Linked DNA regions of Homo sapiens: regions 1 and 3 are each linked to region 2. Evidence: promoter capture Hi-C in 16 types of primary human blood cells and fetal thymus (Javierre and others, 2016). All regions are on one chromosome and are shown on one strand. Each heading gives the region's core, a stretch centred on a gene start or on the middle of the fragment in contact. The rest is flanking DNA. Distances are from core to core; before and after follow the strand shown. Region 1 has its middle 46 kb from the start of LINC03011. Region 2 holds the start of RABGEF1 (RAB guanine nucleotide exchange factor 1). Region 3 has its middle 56 kb from the start of KCTD7.

Evidence for each region. Contacts are between HindIII fragments. The CHiCAGO score rates a contact against its expected background, and 5 or more counts as called.
Region 1: a contact is called between a fragment that was not itself captured here and the fragment with the promoter of RABGEF1 in region 2, in 2 of 17 cell types (naive CD8 T cells and naive CD4 T cells). The highest score is 5.3, in naive CD8 T cells.
Region 3: a contact is called between a fragment that was not itself captured here and the fragment with the promoter of RABGEF1 in region 2, in 2 of 17 cell types (non-activated CD4 T cells and naive CD4 T cells). The highest score is 6.5, in non-activated CD4 T cells.

What each region holds. Positions count from the first base shown.
Region 1 is chr7:66,538,032-66,540,731 of GRCh38, forward strand. It overlaps the pseudogene LOC100420547 and the pseudogene RABGEF1P1. Among named protein-coding and RNA genes, the nearest start is that of LINC03011, 46 kb to the left of the region's middle. The HindIII fragment of the contact is 1,533 bases long and covers 617-2,149 here.
Region 2 is chr7:66,739,394-66,742,093 of GRCh38, forward strand. It overlaps RABGEF1 (RAB guanine nucleotide exchange factor 1), which reads left to right and starts at 1,340. Exons shown (of 9, transcript NM_014504.3): 1 at 1,340-1,399. RefSeq lists enhancers at 954-1,003, 1,017-1,683 and silencers at 1,134-1,403, 1,424-1,563. The HindIII fragment of the contact is 9,271 bases long and covers 1-2,700 here.
Region 3 is chr7:66,571,654-66,574,353 of GRCh38, forward strand. It overlaps the pseudogene RABGEF1P1. Among named protein-coding and RNA genes, the nearest start is that of KCTD7, 56 kb to the right of the region's middle. The HindIII fragment of the contact is 4,526 bases long and covers 1-2,700 here.

The DNA of each region.
Region 1 (2,700 bases), core at 133-2,632, 200 kb before region 2:
ATGACAGACATGAGCCACTATGCCCAGCCTGTAGTGCTTTTTGCTATGTGAGATTAGACCCAGCAGGCCCAGAGTCTCAAATTAGGAAACAGAGAGGTTGAGTGACTTTCCATACACCACACAGCATTAGGGGTTAGAATCAAGATTGCCTTCCTGTCTAATGAGCCAGGGACCTTCCCCATCCCTGGCCCTGGGGATCCCCCTTTTCCCCAGTGTATGCAGGAATTCAAGCAGGAGCTCGAACAATCCAGCCCCTACCAGAGCCTGCCCTACCCCATTTCCTTCAGAAACTCATGATTTAAAAAAATGTAACCTGGGCGACATGGCAAGATCCCATCTCTACAAAAAATGGAAAAATTAGCTGGGTGTGGTGGCCTGCACCTGTAGCCCCAGCTACTGCACTCCAGCCTGAATGACAGCAAGACCCTGTCTCTAACAAAAAAAAAAAAAAAAAAAAGTAATCCTCTTTCCTCTAAATTAAATAAAGAGGTAGGAAAATGCAAGAGCAGCTACAGAGAAAAATCAGTGTTCTTCCAGAGCTTGTTGACTGAGCTAGAGAATCCCACGGACAAGGTATACTGTGGGCTTTGCACAGTGTCTGCACGTAATATGGCCAAGCTTGTTTTTTATTTTTTAATTTGTTTGTTGTTAGTTTGAGACAGGGTCTAGCTCAGTTGCCCAGGCTGGAGTGCAGTGGTGCAATCATGGCGTACTGCAACCTTGACTTTCCAGGCTCAAGCGATCCTCCCACCTCTGCCTCCCAAGTAGCTGGGATTACAGGCACACACTACCATGCCCAGCTAATTTTTGTTTGTTTGTTTTTTTGTAGAGACAGGGTCTTGCCATGTTCCCCAGACTGGTTTCAAACTCCTGGCCTCAGCCTCCCAAAGTGCTGGGATTACAGGCATGAGCCACTACATCTGGTCAGTTCCTGGTGTTATTGACAAAGGCATTTAGACCCACTCCACCCCTCCCACACTCTGGAGGTGGTCAGGACGCCTCCCCAAACCGCCAGCCCCCTCAGCCAGCCCAGCCCCACTTTCCTGACACGCACACTCCCGCCACTTCTGGTTCACCGCCTGGGACCTGTGTCTCACGTAGAGCTGCCATAGTGTGCTATTGACTGCCCCGTAGTGTCACTGCTGGTTAGCCGCAGCCTGGTTTAGGGTTGCACTTCTCCCCAGACCAGGCAAGACTTGGAAGGAACAGGGGAAGTTTCCTGATTGGCTAATGAGTGTTAAGCACCTGAAATTACAGGATACTACAAGTTTCCTTGTGTCTTACTTGCCGCTCCCAACTGCCTTGGAGGTCTGTGTGATGAGCCCCAGAGTGCAGATGAGCCCACATCCTTGGAGCTTTGGGCCCCGTGTGGTGGTCACCTCCTCTGGGAAGCCCTCCCTGCTATAGGCTCCCATGGGCCATGTAAACCAGAAAGTGCCTGAAACAGGTCTCAATCGATTTAGAGATTTATTTTGCCATGGTGGAGGACACAGCCAGGAAAAAGAGACTCAAGCTGCAATAGGGTCTGTGGCCTGTGCTTTTTTCCAGAGAGGATTTTGAGGACTTTGGTATTTAAAGGGGAAAGAGGGGGGCTGGGCACAGTGGCTCACGCTTGTAATCCCAGCACTTTGGAAGGCCAAGGCAGGTGGATCACCTGAGGTCAGGAGCATAATGGGCAGCATAATGAAACCCCATCTCTACTAAAAATACAAAAAATTCAACACGCGTGGTGGCGGGTGCCTGTAATCCTGGCTACTCTGGAGGCTGAGGCACAAGAATCACTCGAACTCAGTAGGCGGAGGTTGCAGTGAGCCAAAATCATGCCACTGCACTCCAGCCTGGAAAACAGTGAGACTGTCTCAAAAAATAAAAAAATAAAAGAAGAGGAATAGTTAATGATGTATTCATCCTGTGCTCAGTAAATCTGCATTTTACATAAGATAATGTAAACAGAATAGAGGAAGTTAAATACGTATTTGTCTTGGGTGGACAGAGCGATAATTTCTATTCTTGTCTTTGTCCCCTGCCTGTGAAGATAAGCTGTGAATTTACATGACCAGGGTGAGGGAAGCCACCCGGGAGATAGGTGACCTTCTGTCTTACAGCCATCTGCTTAGGGACAAAAGGCTATTGAATGACTCAGTTCCCAAGCTTAACATTTCCCTTTGGCATAGTGAGTTTGGGGTCCCATGTTTTTTGTTTTTTCTTGAGACGGAGTCTTGCTTTGTCACCCAGGCTGGAGTGCGGTGGCGCGATCTTAGCTCACTGCAGCTTCCACCTCCCAGTTCAAGGGATTCTCCTGCCTCAGCCTCCTGAGTAACTCGGATTACAGGCACACACCACCACACCCAGCTAATTTTTTGTATTTTTAGTAGAGACACGGTTTCACCATGTTGGCCAGGCTGGTCTGGAACTCCTGACCTCAAGTGATCCACCCACCTCGGCCTCTCCACCCGGCCTGGGCCTCATCTTTGAGGGGCCTGCTAAGCTTCTTTCTATCCTGCAAGCTTCGTAGAGCTCTGACTTTGAGTCTTGCTCTGTCCCGGAATAGGAGAAGACAGAGGCGTGGCACTGTGGGCTGAAAGCAACAGATTTAGGGGAAACTATCTTTAAGACTAAGCCTTCTTTCTATAGCTACTGTCGGGGAGGCCGGGCATGGTGGTTCACATCTATAATCCCAGCACTTTGGGAGGCTGAGGC
Region 2 (2,700 bases), core at 90-2,589:
CCTATAATCCTAGCACTTTGGGAAGCCAAGGTGGGCGGATCACTTGAGGTCAGGATTCAAAACCAGCCTGGCCAACATGGTGAAACCCTGTCTCGACTAAAAATACAAAAAAAAAAATATGAGCTGGGCGTGGTGGCGGGTGCCTGTAATTCCAGCTACTTGGGTGGCTGAGGTGGGAGAATCGCTTGAACCTAGGAGGCGGAGGTTGCAGTAAGCCGAGATCGCACGACTGAACTCCAGTGTGGGCGACAGAGTGAGAGTCTCAAAAAAAAAAAAAAAAAAAAAAAAAATAGACTGAAAAATTACGCAACCTGTCCAAGAACACTACAGCGACAATTAGCAAAGCTGGGATTTTAACCCAGGTCTATCTCACAGCCACAGCATAGTATTTTCTTTTTTTTCTTGCTGTGACTGCACGTTACGCCATACATGGCATTCAGGACGCAGAGGAATTAGTATTTACTGTTTTTAACATTCCTTACATGGGAATCACGTAAAGAATCAGGTAAACAGGATTCAATTTGTGACTCAACCATTAATACTTTGTGACACTGGCTAATTTATTTCACTTCTGGATGTCGGTTATGTTTTTTTTGAGACAGGATCTCGCTCTGCTGTCACCCGGCCTGGAGTTCAGTGGAGGGATCTCTGCACCGTCAACTTCCTGGGCTATCAAGCGATCCTCCCACCTCAGCCTCCCTGGTAGTTGGGACCACAGGTGCCCGCCATCATGTCCGGCTGATTTGTAAAATTTCTTTTGTAGAGATGGTGACCTTGCTCTGTGGCCCAGGCTGGTCTCGAACTCCTGGACTCAAGCGATCCTCCTGCCTGGGCCTCCTAAAGATTCAGCTGCTTTTGGATCAACCGATCGCCTTAAGACCTTTTAACTCGAACACCTGTCACATCCTAGGATCCGCGAAGGACTGAAACAGAGTTTCTGAAGCGTCCCTCGGCGCAGTAGCTCCGCTCCACCTCCCATTCGCGCTACCACCGCGGCCGCAGCCCCAGGAGTCGCCGCGGAGCCAGCGTCGCCCTCCAGCTGTTGCGCGTCGGAAGCCGGAAGCAGGGACTGAGCGACAGACTAGGAAACGCCGGTTTCTCCGGGGCTCCCCAGCGCCCCACCTTTACCCCGGAGGCCGCCCTCTTCCATTTGCTCTTGGGCGTCAGGGCGGTACCCCACTCCGCTCGACCCTTTGGATCCACTCGCACTTCCTCCCGTCCAGAGTCAAAGGCCCCGGAAGTGACGTTTACGCGCCGCGCGTAACGTGCGTTCGCTGGCGGTGCCGGGGGCGGGGCGAGCAGGAGGGTGGGTGTGAGGCGGGAGCTGGCCGCGGAGCCCAGACCTACCCGGGCGAAGCGGGCGAGCGGTGGTTTGGACGCCGGCGGAGACGCGGGCGAGGTACGGAGCGGACGGACTGGGGCTGAGAGCTGCTCGGCTCTCAGCTACAGGAGCGGGGCGGCGGGGCGTCTCGGGCTGGGGGTGGCAGGGCGGTCGGTCCGTGCCATCCGCGCGGCTGGGGCAGTTGCGCGTCGGTGCCTCCCGCTGTCCTTCGTCCCACATTCCGTCTCCGTCAGCGCCGCCTTCCCCGTTCCAGGCCGCCCTCGGCTCCCTTAATCCTCAGAGTGCGGCCTCTCCGTCCCAGACGCTAGTTGCCGGGATCTCCAGCGCCAGCCGAGCCCCGACGGCCTGACGCGGAGCATTTCCTGGCCGCCTCCCTCTCCGGCGGCTCCCCTCGCCCCGGCTCCCACCTTCCGTCCAGGCCGCTGGCTCCGAAGCAGCGTCTGTGGTCGCACGGGGCCCCTCCCACAACCTCCCCGGAAAGCGCTGGTATGGGACGCTCGGACCCAGACCACAGCCCCCGGCCGCGGCAGGGGCGCGGGGACTTGATCCCACGTCACCCTAGGGGGCAGAAGTGTCCCGGAGTTGGGAGGGGATTTGAAGCCTGTGGTCCTGACTTCCACCCCGTGGCTGAGGGCGAGGCTGCGGGGCCGGGGTTAGGAGCAGAAGTCCCTGCTTCCGAACCGTCTGGGAGGAGAGCCGAGGGATGCCCATCACGGCAGTTTAGGGAGAGAGAGGGAGGGACTCTGCCGCTTTGGAGGCTAGGTCATAGGCAGCTGGCGGTGTCTCAGCGCGGGTGACCAATCCTTGCGGTTGGGAAATGTGTCGTGGGCGCCCGTGGGCTCGTTTTGCCTTTGAGATTAGGTAGGAAATTTTCCCAGGACGAGTTTACCGGAGCACCTTGGGAGTTGGTTTTTGGCCTGGAGAGCTGCTTTCCCCCCTCTAAACCTAGAACTGCTTTGTTTTTATTTATTATTTTTTTCGACATGGGATCTCACAGTGTTGCCCAGGCAGGTGTGAAACTCCTGGCCTTAAGTGATCCTCCCGCCTCGGCCTCCCAGAGTGTTGGGATTATAGGCGTGAGCCATTGCGCGGCTTTAACTGCTGTTAAAGAGTGTGTTCCGGCCGGGTGCGGTGGCTCACGTCTGTAATCCCAGCATTTGGAAGGCCAAGGCAGGCGGATCATGACGTCAGGAGCTTGAGACCATCCTCCCTAACACGGTGAAACCCCGTCTCTACTACAAATAAAAAAAAAAAAGAAAAAGAAAATTTGCCGGGCATCGTGGCGGGCACCTGTAGTCCCAGCTACTCTGGAGGCTGAGGCAGGAGAATGGCATGAACCCGGGAGGCGGAGGTTGCAG
Region 3 (2,700 bases), core at 172-2,671, 170 kb before region 2:
ATTATTCTATCAGAAGAATAACTTGCATTTTAAAAAAGCTAACACTTACTGGAGATCTACTGTGTGAGTCAGGCACTGTGCTAAGCTCTGTACATGTGTCAACTCATGAAATCCTCATCACATGTCTCTGATAGGTATTACTGTCCCTCAGTGTGGACAAGACTTGGAGTGGTTAGTCCACCCAGGGTCACAAAGCTGGTAAATGACAAAACTAGGACTCAAACCAGGAATGACTGCAAAGTCACCTGACTAACCACCTGGAAATTTCACCTCCTAATAGATAAATCATGAGCTGAATACATTCTTATTTAATCTCTGGCAGGTACTAATTTTTCCCCCTTTTTAGTAGAGACAAAATAGCTACAACTGGCAGCCAACCAAGAAACAACTTCAAATTAATCATGTGAACAAAGATTTATTACTTAAAGCTAATCAATCTTTCTTTTTTCTTTTCTTTTTATTTTATTATTTTTTTTGTTTTTTTTAATTTTGAGACAGGGTCTTGCTCTGTCACCCAGGCTGAGACTACAGGCACATGCCACTGTGCCTGGATAATTTTTTTATTTTTTGTAGAAACGGGGTTTCACCATGTTGCCCTGGCTGGTCTCAAACTCCGGAGCTCAGGTGATCCACCCGTCGTGGCCTCCCAAAGTGCTGAGATTATAGGTGTAAGCCACCACACCTGGTATCCATGTCTTAAAGAGAAGTATGTTTTTGGTTATATGCAATATTTCCTTTTATTTCCTTACAATAAACCAAAAGAAAACAGCAAAAGTCACAAAACCTAGAGGACTGGCAAGGATCTTAAGGGATAAAAACTGTCTTATTATTCATTCCCCTGCCTCCAGGGGAGAAGATCTCATTACAATTACCCCAGGGTAAGAACTGGGGAGCAAGTGAGGGGGCTCCCAGAGAACAGGTTTTCTGACAGCATCAGTGTTGGTTCCCAGTCTCCCTCATTATTTCACATTCACTGCATAACTCAACATAAATTTTCAAAGACCGAGTACCAACATAAATTTTCAGAGACCAAGGCCTAACAACAGAGATTCTTTCTTGCTTCATATTGGGCCACTTCAACTGGGTTGTCTGCTCAATGGTAGAACAACTGTGACTTAAGTGACAATCCTCTTGATGGTTATATGGCATTTTAAGAAGCCGAGTGAATATGATCACCTACATACAAATCCATGCACTGGAAAATAGCTACTATGGCTCACTTTCATCCCTCCAGGAGCCCAATGTGGGCCTTTTCCTATATGTTCTCAATACAATTCCTCATGACACAAGCTGTCTCTCAAATAAGCTCTCAGGCAGAAAATCTCTCAGATGACCTTCAAGGCTAGAAATTGCCATTTCTGACAAGCTATGAACAATGAGGGTATGATACTACAGAACAAACCAGGATCCACAAATAAAAGGCGCAAAAACCAAATCATCCAAAGAGATAGTCATTTGGATGGGGATGAATTTCATAAACAAAACTACCTATTTCAATTCTCTTTATTCCTCCTATAAAGTAAACAAATTTCTCTAAAACACAATATCTTTCAACCAAAGAGAGTATTGGTTTCATATACTGTCTGACCCTCAAACCCAATTTCAGTGTCAAATCTGAGCTGATGTTCTCAAAAAGTTGACAGAAATTACAAAGCTGAGCCTATGAGCATTGGGGATCTCCTCTGTGTCTCACTCAGGCAGAGAAGAAAAAAAAGAGTATCACAACATTACCCTTCTTTGATCCGACCCTGGAAGACGTACTGAAGATTTCTTCACTGTGGTAACCTTGCGGGTCTTCTTGTTGGTTTTCTTTCCTTCAAACTTGGAGAATGTGAGGGATTGGGCCCCTTGGCTGCTCTGACTGCTGGCAAAGGCCTCTTCTTCCTCCCGCTGGAGTCTGCAATTCAAGAGAGGATTAGAATGATCTAGATATTCTCCAAGATTTCTCTATACCTGAAGGTTATTACTCCATTAATTCAGGAGGATCTAAAGATTTTAGACCTAGAGACTAAATATGCCAAATCAGTCTGAGGTCTCACATAGCTACAGGATGGACGGCTCTTCATGCACTACAGATTTCAAATGGGATCCTCTCATGCTCATTCAGCAACTGCTCTAGGTTACATGAAAGAAATCAAGTCTAGTCCTTTTCCCCAACAAGCTCAGTGAAATAAATAAAGTCTAGTCCTTTTCCCTAACAAGCTCAAGGCTGGAACAGACGAAAAGGTAAGTAAACAACTGCTACAGAATGGGACAGCTGCTACATCAGAGAGTAAAAGTTGAGTGCTGTGAGAACACAGGAAAGAACAACGCAATCTGCTGGGGGGAGCTGATAAGGCTTTACAACGGTGATGTTTGGGTGGGGTCTTAAAGGATAAATAGGATCCTTTTTTTTGTTGTTTTTTATTGAGACAGAGTGTCACTCCATCACCCAGGCTGGGGTGCAATAGTACGATTTCAGCTCACTACAACCTCTGCCTCCCGAGTTCAAGCAATTTTCATCCCTCAGCCTTCCAAGTTATTGAGACTATAGGTGCACACCACCACGTCTGAGTAATAAGGCTGACTAGGATTCTAAGTGAAAGGACATTCCAGGAAGAAGGAACTACAAATGTGCAAGCCTGTGGTTTGCTTCACAACAAGCTGAATGTAGCCAGAGCACTGGGCGTGTGATGAACTGTGATGCTGGATACACAGGAA